3 separate regions of the Homo sapiens genome follow, and regions 2 and 3 are each linked to region 1. The links are contacts of gene promoters, found by promoter capture Hi-C in human tissues and cell types (Jung and others, 2019). All regions are on one chromosome and are shown on one strand. Each heading gives the region's core, a stretch centred on a gene start or on the middle of the fragment in contact. The rest is flanking DNA. Distances are from core to core; before and after follow the strand shown.

What was found. The method cuts DNA at HindIII sites, captures the fragments that hold promoters and counts their contacts. A contact is called where the count stands out against the background at its distance.
Region 2: a fragment that was not itself captured here is called in contact with the fragment with the promoter of SLC5A11 in region 1 in 2 of the 25 tissues and cell types used here (bladder and neural progenitor cells).
Region 3: a fragment that was not itself captured here is called in contact with the fragment with the promoter of SLC5A11 in region 1 in 1 of the 25 tissues and cell types used here (IMR-90 fibroblasts).

The regions. Positions count from the first base shown.
Region 1 is chr16:24,844,665-24,847,364 of GRCh38, forward strand. It overlaps SLC5A11 (solute carrier family 5 member 11), which reads left to right and starts at 1,299. Exons shown (of 17, transcript NM_001352248.3): 1 at 1,299-1,348; 2 at 1,568-1,774. The HindIII fragment of the contact is 12,271 bases long and covers 1-2,623 here.
Region 2 is chr16:24,803,958-24,806,657 of GRCh38, forward strand. TNRC6A (trinucleotide repeat containing adaptor 6A) reads left to right here. Exons shown (of 25, transcript NM_014494.4): 12 at 220-362; 13 at 748-894; 14 at 1,057-1,194; 15 at 1,648-1,776; 16 at 2,249-2,326; 17 at 2,617-2,700. Among named protein-coding and RNA genes, the nearest start is that of SLC5A11, 41 kb to the right of the region's middle. The HindIII fragment of the contact is 5,372 bases long and covers 1-2,700 here.
Region 3 is chr16:24,884,851-24,887,550 of GRCh38, forward strand. The region is part of intron 9 of SLC5A11 (solute carrier family 5 member 11); the gene reads left to right. Among named protein-coding and RNA genes, the nearest start is that of SLC5A11, 40 kb to the left of the region's middle. The HindIII fragment of the contact is 9,966 bases long and covers 1-2,700 here.

The sequences.
Region 1 (2,700 bases), core at 49-2,548:
GGTGGCCTGGGCTGAAATCTTGCTGTGTCACTTACAACCCGGGTGATCCTGGGCCGATGACTCATCTCCTCTACCTCTGTTACCTCGTCAGTAAGATAGAGATAACAGGACCTAACTTCGAGGGTTGTTGGAAAGACCAAGTGAGTAAAGGCATGTTGTGCCCTTAGAGCCTGGCACGTGTTCATCACTGCTATTATTTCTGGCTACTCGGTGCCAGGACAGGGGCCTCAGCTGAGGGCCCCCCAGAGCCTGGCAGGCCCAGTGAAGGAGTGAGATGGGGAGGCCACGACTCCTCCCCAGTCAGCAGCTGTCCTGTGGCCATGGGGGCCTGGTGAGGCCAGATCTTCAGGTTGTTCTAGAAAAGTGAGTATTCTAGAATTATGTTTCAAGCCTCTTGGTTTGCAAATACTAGTAACTATTTTTAAAATGTTTTGGTATTTGGCCTGGCACAGTGTTTGACCCCTGTAATCCCAGCACTTTGGGAGGCCAAGGTGGGAGGATCACTTAAACCCAGGAGTTGGAGACCAGCCTGGGCAACATAGCAAGATTCTCTCTCTACCAAAAAAATGAAAAAATTAGCTGGGTGTGGTGGTGCACGCCTGTAGTCCCAGCTACTCGGGAGGCTGTGGTGGGAGGATCACTTGAGCCCAGGAGGATGAGCCTGCAGCAAGCTGTGATGCCACCACTGCACTCCAGCCTGGGTGACAGAGTGAGATCCTGTCTCAGAAATAAAAAGTAAATAAAGTTTTGGATGCTTTGAGCATCTGGCAGAAATCTTCGCTATGCCCCGCTGATGTCCTGGGCCCGATGTGGGCGCCTGGCCATGGCTCGGTCACTCCTGACGGTTTTTCAGGGCCTCAGACACCTCTTCTTCTTCTTCTTCTTCTTTTTTTGAGACTGATTTTCGCTCTTGTTGCCCAGGCTGGAGTGCAATGGTGTAATCTCGGCTCACCACAACCTCCGCCTCCCGGATTCAAGTGATTCTCCTGCCTCAGCCTCCCGAGTAGCTGGGACCACAGGCATGCACCACCATACCCGGCTAACTTTGTATTTTTAGTAGAGATGGGGTTTCTCCATGTTGGTCAGGCTGGTCTCGAACTCTCGACTTCAGGCAGACACCTGTTCTTTGCCATGCCTCTGTCTGAAGAGTATATGGAAAGGGGTTGCACAAGCAATGGTTGCTGTTCCTGTTGCTGCCACTGCGGTGAGGGCTGTGGCTGGACGTCCCTCCTGGCACTTTGCCTCTGTCCCCTCCATCCGCCGCCAGCATTTTTCCTCCCCTCCCCTTCCTCCAGCTCGTCCCAAGCCTGCCTGTCCCCAGCGTGGAGGCGGGACAGTGGAAGACTGGGTGAGTGAAGCAGGATGGTGCCTTGGGCTCCAGCGTCTCCCCAACCCCTCCATGCCATGGGTCCCCACGCAGGTGAGGACCCTGGTGGAGGACGGTGTGGGCAGAGCGTGGGACATGTCACCTTCCCCACCTGCTCAGAGTTCAAGGGTCCTGGGCTGGGCCCCGTTCTCTCTTCTGCCCTGGGGAGATCATTCACGCTTCCTTTAATCCCCGCTGCAGCTGAGGCTGGAGTTTGGAGTTTGACCCGCTTGGAGGCTCTCTCAGCAGCGGGCATATAGGAGGAAGGGTCACTGCTGTCTCCGGAAGCTCTTGGCTGCAAAGAGAGAGGATCCCGGGTATCTCCCTCCTTACAACCACCGCCACCTCCTAGTGCCTTAGAAGCCACTGACAGCCCCCAGGGCAGGTGAGCCCTGCATCTGGAATAAGGTAAGACACCCCCTGCCCCCAAACAGGTAGCCACTCTCCAAACTGGGAAGTTGGTCTGGGGACAGGTGCTGGCAGAAGGACTCCAGCTGTCACCTGTGGGGCAGGGGAAGCTCAGCCCTCTCTGCAGAGAAAGCTTGTCATACACCAGGACAATGGAGTGTGTTTGTGGGGTGGGCATGGTGGTATGAAGCCAGCAGCCGGCAGCCAGCAGCACCGTACGTGGGTCCCAGCTCTTCCACTTAACCAAGGTCAGGGACATTGAGCCAAACATTTTGCCTCACCGAGTCTCAGGTTCCTTATCTGTCAAATGGGAATATGAACCTCAGGCTGACCCACCCCACAGGTGTGTTACCCAGAGATAACGAAGGTAAATGTATCCACATAAGCATTAAAAAGCTATAGGAATGTATTTACTACAACTGCAGCTGCTGTTAACTACAAGGCAAATACAAGTCTTCACTGGTACGTGTCAGACACGTGCAGAGAACTTTACGCCTGGATCTCATCTAACTGACACAGAAACCCTGTAAGGTAGGTACAGCACCCCCTAATTCATGGACAGAGTCTAAGGGTCATTAAATAACTTGCTCAAGGTAATACAGATAGTGAGTGGCCAAGCCAAGACTCAATTCCTGTGGCCATGAGCTCAGCCACAATATCAGTGATTTTCTTTTTCTTTCCTTTCTTTCTTTTTCTCTTTCTTTCTTTTTCTTTCTTTTCCTTTCTTTTCTTTGTTCTTTCTTTCTTTCCTTCTTTCTTTTATTTCTTTCCTTATTCCTTTCTTTCCCTTTCTTTCTCCTTCCTTCTTTCCTTCCTTCCCTCCCTCCCACCTCTCTGTTTCTCTTTCTTTTCCCTTTTTTCTTTCTTTCTTTCTTTCTTCTCTCTCTTTTATTATTTATTTCTTCCTTTCTTTCCCTTTCTCCTTC
Region 2 (2,700 bases), core at 135-2,634, 41 kb before region 1:
TTTCAAGTTAATTATTTCAGTAAAATAACAGTATCTCCTAATTGCGACTTCATTTGTGAGGAATGCAAAATTTATGAAATGGAAGTGTATTTTTCACATACCCTTGTCTTGGCTGAAGTCATTTCAGTTTGGAAAGTGAGTGTTTTGCTTTTGTTGTAAATTTATCTGAAACCAATTGGGTTGTCTTCCTGTTTGATAACAGTCTCCTGCCTTTATTAGGAATGTTACAAGACAAACGAATGGAGATAGATAAACATAGCCTAAATATTGGTGATTACAATCGAACGGTCGGGAAAGGCCCTGGTTCTCGGCCTCAGATTTCCAAAGAGTCTTCCATGGAGCGCAATCCTTATTTTGATAAGGTAAGGTTTTTTACTTTTACCTCTGACTTGATAAACCAGTATACTTCATAGCGTAATTTTCACACTAATATTTTAAAACCTTTTATATAATATAAAGTGTTACAATCCACTACCAAATCTTATTACTGGATTTTGAAGTTCACTGTCTTTTTATGTCTCAATTTATCATAGAGGTTGCATTTATATTTTTCTTCTTAATCCCATGAAATATGTTTGGCTCTTTTTGTGTGCTCTAGAATTAACACTAATCCGATCTCTTCTGTTTTCTACCTGTTTCCTGTTGATGCTGGAATGTCATGTGACTTCTCTTCTGTTCCTGCAATGATTTCTCCCTTCCACTTGTTTGCTTGGCTGGTGTTGCACATCTTTCTGTCTGTCCAATCAGGATGGCATTGTAGCAGATGAATCCCAAAACATGCAGTTTATGTCCAGTCAAAGCATGAAGCTTCCCCCTTCAAATAGTGCACTACCTAACCAGGCCCTTGGCTCCATAGCAGGGCTGGGTATGCAAAACTTGAATTCTGTTAGACAGGTAAGTCCAGATGTGTATTTTAGGCTCTCAGTTGAATGATTTGTATTAGTAATAAGATCTCTCTTACATGTAGTTACTGTGTTTAAATCATAGTACAGTGTGGTAATGAGATGTTTGTCCCTAAAGAATCCCACTGTTACTTGTTGCTGTTTGTTTTTATAGAATGGCAATCCCAGTATGTTTGGTGTTGGAAACACAGCAGCACAACCCCGGGGCATGCAGCAGCCTCCAGCACAACCTCTTAGTTCATCTCAGCCTAATCTCCGTGCTCAAGTGCCTCCTCCATTACTCTCCCCTCAGGTAAATAAGCTTTCCTTACATTCTCCTGTTTACCTGCAAAAAGGATCTTGCATGATTTTGTATTTGAATAAAATGGCTAACTAAGCATTATCATATTTATTGGCATCTTTGAGATTCAGCTAGTTTTGAATTAACTATTAAAAAAGGTTGTAGTAAGGAAAAGTCAAGGATAATTTAAATCCAAAATTTACCATTTTCTTCTTTAAAACATTCTTGAGAGTAGGACAAAAGCAAAGTAAAATTGACTAGTTTAAGATGCACCTCTGTCATCTTTTACTTAACCCACGAAAAAGTGTAAGTGAGTGGTCAGTTAGTAAGACAGAGACAAAGACTATAACCCCCAATGAATAGTCCACAAATTTAACTGCTCTATTGACAACTGAAAACACACAGTACGTGTAGTTAGTGTGAGTTATTTTATCAAGATCATTAACTTACCATTGTGATCCTAAGGTTCCAGTTTCATTGCTGAAGTATGCACCAAACAACGGTGGCCTGAATCCACTCTTTGGCCCTCAACAGGTAGCCATGCTGAACCAGCTATCCCAGCTAAACCAGCTTTCTCAGATCTCCCAGTTACAGGTAAGCAGAGTCATAGTCTTTCTTAGTACACATTTATGGAGCATCTACTGTATGCCAAACACTAGACTCTGTGCGGGACATAGTGCACTAAACAAAACAGGCGTAGTCATAGTCCTCATGGAGCTTACAGTCTATCGGGGGAGACAGATCGTGAACATTTGTGAAGAATGTCTTGAAGAAGTGCAGAATGCTGTGAGAGGAAACCTCAGCCAAGTCCAGGGTGCTAGTGTTAGTAGGATGATTAGGAAAAGTTTCTCTGTTGAAGTGAAAGTTTAGATTGAACTAAAGACTGAATTTCAGCAGTGACTAGAAACCAGAGAGTCCAAGGAAGAGATGGTACTAGATAATGCTAGACATGTTGGCATTGGCTAGATCACGTCGTGCCTCTGTAGGTCCATCTGCTGTCGTCATTTGGAAGCACACACTTTGTAATGGTGTGATAGTAACAACCTTTTCGCTATCTTTCCTCTAGCGATTGTTAGCGCAGCAGCAAAGGGCGCAGAGTCAGAGAAGCGTGCCTTCTGGGAACCGGCCGCAGCAAGACCAGCAGGTAGAGCCCGCCCTGCAACTCGCAATGCTGTCTTTGTGTTAATAAACTCTGCTTATCTCCATTGTAGCAAGAGATTCAGAAATGTCTTTCTTAAAACAATCTTACTAAGATGTAATGCAGTATGTTTTTCATTAAGTCTGCTGGTTGCCCATGAGTTATGTGAACATTATACAGTGATTATTCACCTTTCTGCTGAGACGAAAGTGAATTCAAAAATGGAGAGGAATATGTAGTTTTCTGTAAAGACGTTTTCCCCCAGTAATTTTTTCCAATCATTTCATTGTTTTAAGGGTCGACCTCTTAGTGTGCAGCAGCAAATGATGCAACAATCTCGTCAACTTGATCCAAACCTGTTGGTGAAGCAGCAGACTCCA
Region 3 (2,700 bases), core at 187-2,686, 40 kb after region 1:
CCGCCTCAGCCTCCCAAGTAGCTGGGCCCACAGGTGTGCACCACCATCCCTGGCTAATTTTTTTCATTTTTTTAAATAGATGGGGTTTCGTCATGTTGCCCAGGCTGGTTTCAAACACCTGGGCTCAAGCAATCACCTGCCTCGGCCTCCCAAAGTGCTGAAATTACAAGCGTGAGCCACTGCATCCAGCCCAGAAGCTTTAAACTCTAGCACTAGCCCACACCTAGACTTTAGCATTTCATTTCAAAATATTCGCCCAATTCTTCGTACCAGCTTGTGTGGTGATCCTGTCTTTGTTTTGCTGCCAACGGTCATGTCTCTTTGGAGGCTCCTGTGTTTTCTGAGATCTCAGGCCAGTTGGTTGCTCTATGGCCTCAGCTCTCTGATAGGTTCAGGGGAAGTTATTTTGTTGATTAGCCAACTTCTTATTATTGTTAAGCGGGGGACACTACTCTCCACAGGTTTCTATCTTTTAGAGGTAAGCCACTCATTAAGCCTTAAAGACTACAACAAAGGCCGAGTGTGGTGGCTCACACCTGTAATCCCAGCACTTTGGGAGGCCAAAGCAAGAGGATCGCTTGAGCTCAGGAGTTTGAGACCAGCCTGAGCAACATAGTGAGACTGTCTCTACAAAAAATAAACATAAACTTACCCAGGTTTGGTGGCATGTGCCTGTAGTCCCAGCTACCTGACAGGCTGAGGTGGGAGGATGGCTTGAGCCTGGCAGGTTGAGTCTGCGGTGAGCTGAGATTGTGCCACTGCACTCCGGCCTGGTCTCGCTTTGAGACAGAGTGAGACCCTGTCTCAAAAAAAAAAAAAAAAAAAAAAAAAGGCTATGAAAACTAATATAGAAAACACAGAAAAGCGAAAGGGATCAAAATCCTGAAAGATGGCAGAATATAGTGCTGAAAATTATATATTTTAGGACTCAGAAGAAAATATCAAGAGAGTGCCATGCTTGGAATCCTGAACTCTATGAAACATGTATGAAAGATAGAAGTAGAGGACAAACTGAGGTGAAGGGAGAATAGAAGCGGATAAAAAGGAAAAAGATTACAGAAGATTACAATACATTTTCTAAAATTTTCTAAAAAAATTAGCAGAATTAAACTCCCCACAGGTGGATGTAAAGAGCAGAACAAACGCTAAAGAAAATCAAACCCAGGATGAAAACAAATAGGAGTTCTTTTTTTTTTTTTTTTGAGATGAAGTCTCGCTCTGTCACCCAGGCTGGAGTGCAGTGGCATGATCTTGGCTCACTGCAACCTCCACCTCCCGGGTTCAAGCGATTCTCCTGCCTCAGCCTCCCAAGTAGCTGGGACTACGGACACACGCCACCATGCCCAGCTAATTTTTGTATTTTTAGTAGGGACGGGGTTTCACCATCTTCACCAGGATGGTCTCCATCTCTTGACCTCATCTTCTGCCCGCCTTGGCCTCCCAAAGTGCTGGGATTATAGGCATGAGCCACCACGCCCGGCTGAAAACAAACAGGAGTTCTAATAAAATGCAGAGAAAAGGGATAAATAATAAAATTATAAAAGAAAAGATGACAAATATAGAAGATAGAGAGCAGAGATATACCATTTGAGAAATGTTTATTCTTTTTCTTTCTTTCTGTTTTTGCTTTTTGAGAAATGTTTATTCTTAGAAAAAAGGTCAGAAAAAAATGGAACAAAGTAAATAATTAAAGTAATCACAAAAGAAAACTTTTCTTAGAAGGAGGATGATATATCTAGCTAGGTGTGAAGGGTTTGCTGTGTCTTAGGCAAAATCGATGAACAAGATCTCCAGGTAGAAGAAGCATTATGAAAAAAATGTGAAGTATAAGAATACTTTTTAAATACTAAAGAATACAGACAGAGAGGTGGGAAGATCATTTGAGGCCAGTAGCTTGAAACCAGCCTGGACAACAAAGCAAGACCCCACTCTATGAAAAATGGAAAATTAGCTGGATGTGGTGGTGCACACCTGTGGTCTCAGGTGGGGACTGGAGGATCAGGGAGGTTAAGGAGGTTGAGGCAGGAGGATCACTTGAGTCCAGGTGCTCGAGGCTGCAGTGAGCTATTATTGCACCACTGCACCCCAGCCTGGGTGACAGGGTGAGACTCTGTATATAAGAAAAAAAGAATCCAGACAGAAAAAATGTAGTGAGCTAAAAATAATAAACAAACTGGTCTCATTCCCCTCCTTCATAACAATAAAATGCCAAAAGACAGTGGAGCAAGGGCTACAGATGTGTTTTATGGGAAAAGTTGTATCCTAAGTAAGGATCAGATACCAGCCAAGTTCTCTGTTTGCCAGGGCTGCAGAAATATTCTGAACCATGCAAAGACTTAGTAAAGGGAGGACCTATGTGCCTGTCTTGAAGGTACAAGACAGAAACAAAACAAAATCGAGAGTTGGTATTATGACTAAAGAGAAAATGGTAGTAAATAATGATCCAGTTAAAATCATTACAGATCTGAAAAAATTGTGTGGTCAAGGCAAACGTTACATAAAGAATATAACAATTTAATAAAAATTGGATCTAAAGCCCCCTATTTTACTAACAAAAACTTTAAAATGTTGGGAGAGATAGTATGCTAGATTTCCCATCAAATAGGAAGAAAAACATCATGAAGAAGAAATACTGAACTCCAAGCAGACACTCATATAAATCTCACCCTTTATGTAGGAAATATGTGTGCATATAAGTTT